Regions from separate parts of the Homo sapiens genome. Here region 1 is linked to region 2. The links are contacts of gene promoters, found by promoter capture Hi-C in human tissues and cell types (Jung and others, 2019). All regions are on one chromosome and are shown on one strand. The core of a region is centred on a gene start or on the middle of the fragment in contact, and the rest is flanking DNA. Distances in the headings are between cores, read along the strand shown.

Region 1 (3,511 bases), core at 427-2,926, 200 kb before region 2:
GCTCTCTCTGGCTTCCCACCATGTGATGTGAGGACACAGCAAGAAGACAGCCATCTGCATCCCAGAGGGAAGCCCTCACCAGAACCTGACCCTGCTGGCACCCTCTTCTCAGACTTCCCACCTCCAGGGCTGAGAGATGTGTGTCTGTTGTTTACAGCCACCCAGTCTATGGCCTTTTGCTGAAACAGCCCAAACAGATTAAGACAGGAGGAGAAGGAGGAAGAGGAGAAAGAAGAGGAGGAGAAGGTGGAGGAGGAGGAGGAGGAGGAGGAGAAGATGGACTTAGAGACACAAGGAGGCCACAGTGGAGTGTTTGGCTTTCGCTCTGAGTGTGCTGGGAAGCTACTGGAAGGTTTAGGGCACAGGGACACAATCTGACAGATATTTTGGAAGTATCAACGGTCAATGGAAGCAAACGTCAGGGCTGGACAACCAGGTCAGAGGTGACAAAGACTTACGTGATAGCAGTGCTCTCATTTGGGAGACACCTGAAGACAGAGCCAGCCAGGTTTGCTGACGGGTTTGACATAAAGGGTGAAAGAAAGAGAGGAGTCGAGGCTGACTTAAGGCTTGGGGCTGGCCTGAGCACCTAGAGAATGGAGCTGCCCGGTGCTGAGCTGGGGAAGCCCGTGGTCTGGGGAGAGACAAGTGTGAGGTCGAATCAGGCACCCAGTTTTGGGTGACAGAAGCCTCAGATGCCCATCAGATGACACCCACATGCAGCTGCCACCTAGGCAGCTAGGTACACAAGTCCAGGATTCGGGGAGTGAGCCAGGCTGCAGACACTAGGACACTGGAGGTTCTAAGATGCATTTCAACTCTTGTACCTCGGTGAGATCACCAGGAAAGCAGGTGTAGATAAAGCAGAAAAGAGGTCCCTTCTCAAGTTCAAAGGTCATGAACAGTTGGAGGATCTGGCATAGGGGACAGAGGAGAGGAAGAAAGCAGAGGGAATATCGAGCTCTGAAATACACAGCGTCACCCCTTTACTTGGCTTTCGGAGCTTGGTGTTCACAAAAAATTAGAAACGAGGTTGGGGGCGGTGGCTCATGCCTGTAATCCCAGCACATTTTGGGAGGCCAAGGTGGGCAGATCACTTGAGGTCATGAGTTCGAGAGCAGCCTGGCCAACATGGCGAAACCCCATCTCTACTAAAAAATAATACAAAAATTAGCCATGCGTGGTGGTGCATGCCTGTAATCCCAGCTACTTGGGAGGCTGAGGCAGGAGAATCGCCTGAACCCGGGAGGCTGAGGTTGCAGTGAGCCGAGATGGTGCCACTGTACTCCAGCCTGGGTGACAGAGAGAGACTCTGTCTCAAAATAAATAAATACATAAATAAGAAACAAACGTTCATCAACTGGAATACCATTAACTACCTTACGGTGCATCCTAGCTCTAAAACAGGAGGCTAGGCGAGGGTGCCTGGGTCCGGTGCCTGGGTCCAGTTCCTGGGTCCTCCAGTTTCTAGCTGGGTGACCTCAGCCAGGGACTTAAATCTTTCTGCACTTCCATTTCTTTGTCCATAAACGGAGAAAATACTTCTATCTGTGTTGGGTGGTTGTGTTAAATGAGAGGAGTCCTACAAAGTGTGGAGTTTAATGGCCAGCCCAGCACACGGAAAATGCCCATAAATGTTCATTAGCGTCATCGTTGTAATTCACACCATTATAACGTAACCCACATAATTTACTGATTTTTTGCAGATTTAAATATCTGAAACTAAAAGCAGTTATGCTGTTTGCTATTTGTGATTTCAAAAACTCTTCGCTATTTGTGATGTTGCTAAGCCCTTTAGGGAGTGCCTCCTGCTATGAGCTATATTCATTCCAGGGCATATTTGTGGGGTTTGTCATTTTAACCAAGTACTTAATACTTGTTTCTCTCCCAGCATCTTGCCAAATGTGGCAGCTCTCCTTCTAGATGAACACTACTGCATTACTGTTATAGAAATGATATTTTAACATCAACTCCCTTTTCCCTTTTCTTCCCTAGAAATCCAGTCCTTCCATGAGACCTCGGTACACACAGAACTCCTCCTACCACGTGCAACCTTATTCTCGGCTGAGCAACTCATAAATCGCATAACAAAAACAGTGATTGATGCGGACTGTGTTTAGTGCCATCCTTGCCGGTGAGAGGGAGTGAGCCAGCAAGCTTCCTTAAATCTCTTTAGTTCTCCAAAAGGAGAGGCCATTTGCCTTCTCATCTATGCCGCAAGTTTCTGGGGCTTGCATCATTAACCTGGTGGCTTTGCCAATTCCTTCGCCAGTGCTGGGTCAAAGACAGGCAAGGGCACCAGGGTTAGCCATGAGTGTGTGCCAGGGGCTGAATGCAAAACCCGGGAGCACTGGTGGCTGGGGCAGGTGGGCTGGGCTCTGCCACTGCCTCCCCCAGCCCACCCAAGAGGGGCGTGTGCCTCTGCAGGAAATGGCCTCCAAGCATTTCTCAAGACTTACGAGATGTTCAAACCTACACAGTCAGAGACAAAGAGCTAGCTATAAGTGGGGTCTTTTTCCCCTCCTCAAAATTCATCCTGCAGAAGTAGACATGTGCTAAACAGTGCATGGCCACACAAATGCTTGGATACCAATGTTCACAGCAGCGTTGTCCTAATGGCCCCAAAGTAGCAACAGCCCAAATGTTTGTCAACTGATGGATGGATAAACGAAGGCGGCCGGGCGCGGTGGCTCACACCTGTAATCCCAGCACTTTGGGAGGCTGAGGCGGGTGGATCACCTGAGGTCAGGAGTTTGAGACCAGCCTGACCAACATGGAGAAACCCTGTCTCTATTAAAATACAAAATTAGCCGGGCGTGGTGGCACATGCCTGTAATCCCAGCTACTTGGGAGGCTGAGGCAGGAGAATCGCTTGAACCCGGGAGGCGGAGGTTGCAGTGAGCCAAGATCGCGCCATTGCACTCCAGCCTGGGCAACAAGAGCAAAATTCCATCTCAAAAAAAAAAAAAAAAAAAAGGAACGAGGCACTGGCACATGCTGTAAACGGATGGACAGTGGACCCTGAAAACATTATGTTACGTGGAAGAAGCCAGTCACAAAAGGCCACATAGTGTGTGATTCTGTTTATATGAAAGGTTCAAAACAGGCAAATCCACAGAGACAGAAAGTGGATTCACAGTTGCCCGGGGCTGGGAGGAGGAAGGGCAAGTGGCTGTTCATGGCAGGTTCAGGGTTTCTTCTTCTTTTCGGAGTGATGAAAATGTTCTGTGAAGATAGTATACTAAGACCCACTGAACCATACACTTCAAATGGGTGAGCTTTACGGTATGTAAAACAGATCTCAGCACAGCTGTAAAAAAAAAAAAAAAAAAGGTATATTGACGACCTGTCCCCAGTGGCATTAGTTTAAGTCATAAAAATTTAGAAACAAATGTTCATCAACAGGAAAATCATTAAGTACCTTATGGTGCATCCTAGCTCTAAAACTATGCTGCCATTAAAAAGAAGAGGTACCGTCTCCAAGAAAGAAAGCCAACATCTGCAGTGCCTG
Region 2 (3,477 bases), core at 572-3,071:
CTAACGGCGGAGATTTTGGCTGCCACCCCCACAGCCCCACAACACCTTTCCTGGCCTGGTGCCCCTGAAAGCCAGGGCAGCAGAGGAGGAGGAAGAAATGATCCCATGTTGGGGGCCAGCAATGCTTCTGGGCTTGAGGAAGAGGGGTAGGGGCTTGGGTATTGGAGAAGAGGCAGCGCAGAGTTGGGTAAAGGGGGTGCCAGGGTGCAGGAAGGCCTCGTGTTTATGAGAACCAACACAGACCAATGGGGAGGGGCCGTCCAGAGCGTTTAGGGAGGTTGGGGAACCCACCCACCCACCCTGGGTTTCAACTGAGGCTCTAAGATCCTGGGGGAAAAAAACAGAAAATGAGGTGGAAGGAGGGAGAGGGTAGTGGCTGAAAGAGACATCAGGACTCATCAGGCTGATGGGCGTTAGATGAAGTGGGAGATCCTGAAGGCAAAGGTTGTACAGGAGACTGCAGGACTGTGACGTGACCAACCAGCCTGGGAGGGAGATCTGGACTGGGGTCAAGTGTGGGGAAGCCTAAATCAGGATCCCAGGGGCGGAGAGGGCCCAAGCTGAGGGGAACAGCAGGCCATCAGTGACTCAAAGGTCTGGGGAATCCAGGTCAGAGAAGAAACTGCTCCTGGTCCTGGTCTCAGAGCAGAGGGTCTGAAGGTGAAAGAGACAGCCCCGCCGGGTCCGAGGGAGAGTGACCAGGGCCTGAAACTAGAAGGGGGCTGAGGCGGCAGGGTGGGTCAAAGAAAGAAGTCTGAAAAAGCAAGTACAAAGAGAGGGGACACTCCAAACAGGCCTGAGTCCCTGCAGCAGAAGACCGAAGGCCAGGGTCCTAGGGAGTCAGAGGAGCTCAGGCCAGGGCTGGGGTTGGGAGAGAAAGGGATGCCCTGGCTGCAGCCGGGGCAGGATCAGACGGGAGAGAAGGCTCAGGTCCAGGTAGGGGATGGGTGGAGATAAAGCTTAGGCTGGGCCGGGGTTCAAGGAAGAGAGACGCCGCAGAGCAGGGTCCCAGGGGGCCGGGGACGCCTCATATCTGAGCTGAGGTTGAAGGGAAGACAGACAGCAGGTTGGGGACTCTGGGAGTTTGAGGCGACTCGGGGACAAGGGTCCAGACAGGAAAGGAGACAGTGACTGGCCCTGGACCTAGAGACGGAAAGGTCTACTGGGCAGATCCGAGGGGCCCCGGGAGGGGTCTGAACAGGGCCCAGATCCCAGGAAGTGCCTGGAAGGAGCTCTGGGCCAGGCTGAAGTCCCGAGAGCTGTCTTGAGGTCCCTAAGCCGGGCTGGGGTCCCCAGGGGCGTCCCAGGTGGATGCAGGTCGGACTGGCGTTCCGAGGGGTCTCCCGGGGGTCTCCGAGCCAGGCTGGGGGGTCACCAGGGGCGTCCCAAGGGGCTCCGGGCCCGGCCCGGGTCCCGAAGGGTGTCCGAGGCGCCCTGGCCGGGGTCGCGGATGGGGGAGGGGCGCCCCCGCCCCACATAAAGGCCCGAGGAGCGGCGGGCGCGCACAAAGCGGGCGGGCGGGCGCGGAGCGGGGAGGCCGGGACCGGGGAGGGCCGGGCGGGCCGGCGGGCGGGAGGGGGCCGGGCGGGCTGCGCAGGGGCGGCGCGGCCGCTCCTCACCTGATTGTCCATGGCTGGCGCCCCGCCCCGCCCCCGGGCCCCGCGTCGCTCGCCGCCGCCGCCGCCGCCGCCGCCGCTCAACGCCGCCCCGCCGCCCTCATTGTCTGTCAAGCGCCGCCGCCGCCGCCGCCGCCGCCGATCCCGGCCGCCCGCTCGCCCGCCAGCCCCGCGGAACCGGAAACCACCGCCAGCCCGGGTCGCGCACCGATCACGGGCCCCCGCCGCCGACTAGGGCCCGCCGCATCGACTGACAGCCACCTGGGCCAATCGACGGCGCGGACGGCCGCTTGTGGCGCGGGACTTCCTGCCTGGCGGGGGCCTGCCGGGCTGCGGCCGGAGGGACGAAGCCCGCAGCCAATGGGAGGCCGGGACCGGAGGGGCGGGAGGAGGGAGGGAGGGAGGCGCGAGGCGAGCCTGGCGGAGGGGAGCGCGAGGTGTGCGCCGCACGTGGAGGGGGGCGGGGGCGGGACGGGCGCGCGGCGCCTGCGCGCTGCGGCCCGCAGGGGGCGCTGCCTCGTGGCTGGAGCCTCCAGGGCGGGAGCGTCCCGGGGGCTGGAACTGAGGTTACGGGTTCGAGCCCTGTGGAGGGATCCCCCAGCCCCCCCGGTAGGGACACTTTTGTTTCCTGACCTCATGATGCTGCTATGTAATGGAACGAGCCCTGGGCTCTGGAACTGGAGATTAATTTTCTTTTCTTTTTTTTTTTTATGAGACACGTCTCGCTCTGTGGCCTAGGCTAGAGTGTACTAGCACGATCTCAGCTCACTGCAACCTCCACCTCCCAGGTTCAAGAGATTCTACTGCCTCAGCCTCCCGAGTAGCTGGGATTACAGGAGCTCGCCATTATGCCCAGCTAATTTTTGTATTTTTAGTAGAGACGGGGTTTTGCCATGTTGGCCAGGCTGGTCTCGAACTCCTGACCTCAAGTGATCCGCCTGCCTCAACCTCCCAAAGTGGAGATTAATTTTCTAATCTTGCATAATCCTTGGCAAACCTGGTCAGCCCCTTCTTCACCTTTCCCTGAGTCTCAGTTTGTGCATCTGTGAAATAGGTTGAAGAACAGTACTGTGTGATTCTTCATGCTAATTTGAATGATACAAATTTGAAATCGTGCTACATTCAAATGACCCAAGAGAGTCACATGTTTTCAGTTAGACACGAAGAATAAGTTCTGGCGATCCATCACACAGCAAGGTGACTACATAATAATGTAATTTTATATTTTAAAATTGCTAAAAGCGGCCAGATGCGGTGGCTCACGCCTGTAATCCCAACACTTTGGGAGGCTGAGGGGGGCGGATCACCTGAGGTCAGAAGTTCAAGACCAGCCTGGCCAACATGGTGAAATCCCATCTCTACTAAAAAAATACAAAAATTAGCCGGGCGTGGTGGTGTGTGCCTGTAATTCTAGCTACTCAGGAGGCTGAGGCAGGAGAATCGCCTGAACCAGGGAGGCAGAGGTTGCAGTGAGATGAGATCATGCCACTGCACTCCAGCCTGAGTGACAGAGCAAGACTCTGTCTCAAAAAAGAGAAAAAAAAGAAAAAAAATGCTAAAAGTGGATTTTGAATGTTCTCACCATAAATAATTGATAAGTATATGTGGTGATGGATATGTCAATTAGCCTGATTTGTTTATTCCATAATGTATACATGTACCAAAGCATCAAGGTGTACCCCATACATATATACAGTTATTATTTGTCAATAAAGATTTTTTTTTTGAGATGAGGTCTCTGCTGGAGTGCAGTGGCACAATCGTGGCGCACTGTAACCTAGACCTCCTGGGTTCAAACAATTCTCCCACCTCAGCCTCTCAAGCAACTAGGACTGACTGCAGGCTCATGTCACCACGCCCG

What was found. The method cuts DNA at HindIII sites, captures the fragments that hold promoters and counts their contacts. A contact is called where the count stands out against the background at its distance.
Region 1: a contact is called between a fragment that was not itself captured here and the fragment with the promoter of MLLT1 in region 2, in 1 of the 25 tissues and cell types used here (IMR-90 fibroblasts).

What each region holds. Positions count from the first base shown.
Region 1 is chr19:6,075,025-6,078,535 of GRCh38, forward strand. The region is part of intron 1 of RFX2 (regulatory factor X2); the gene reads right to left. It overlaps RFX2-AS1 (RFX2 antisense RNA 1), which reads left to right. Exons shown (of 2, transcript NR_199041.1): 2 at 1,996-2,100. Among named protein-coding and RNA genes, the nearest start is that of RFX2-AS1, 14 kb to the left of the region's middle. RefSeq lists an enhancer at 1-136. The HindIII fragment of the contact is 7,886 bases long and covers 1-3,511 here.
Region 2 is chr19:6,278,154-6,281,630 of GRCh38, forward strand. It overlaps MLLT1 (MLLT1 super elongation complex subunit), which reads right to left and starts at 1,822. Exons shown (of 12, transcript NM_005934.4): 1 at 1,620-1,822. The coding sequence starts at 1,631. RefSeq lists an enhancer at 910-989 and a silencer at 1,790-2,219. The HindIII fragment of the contact is 7,192 bases long and covers 29-3,477 here.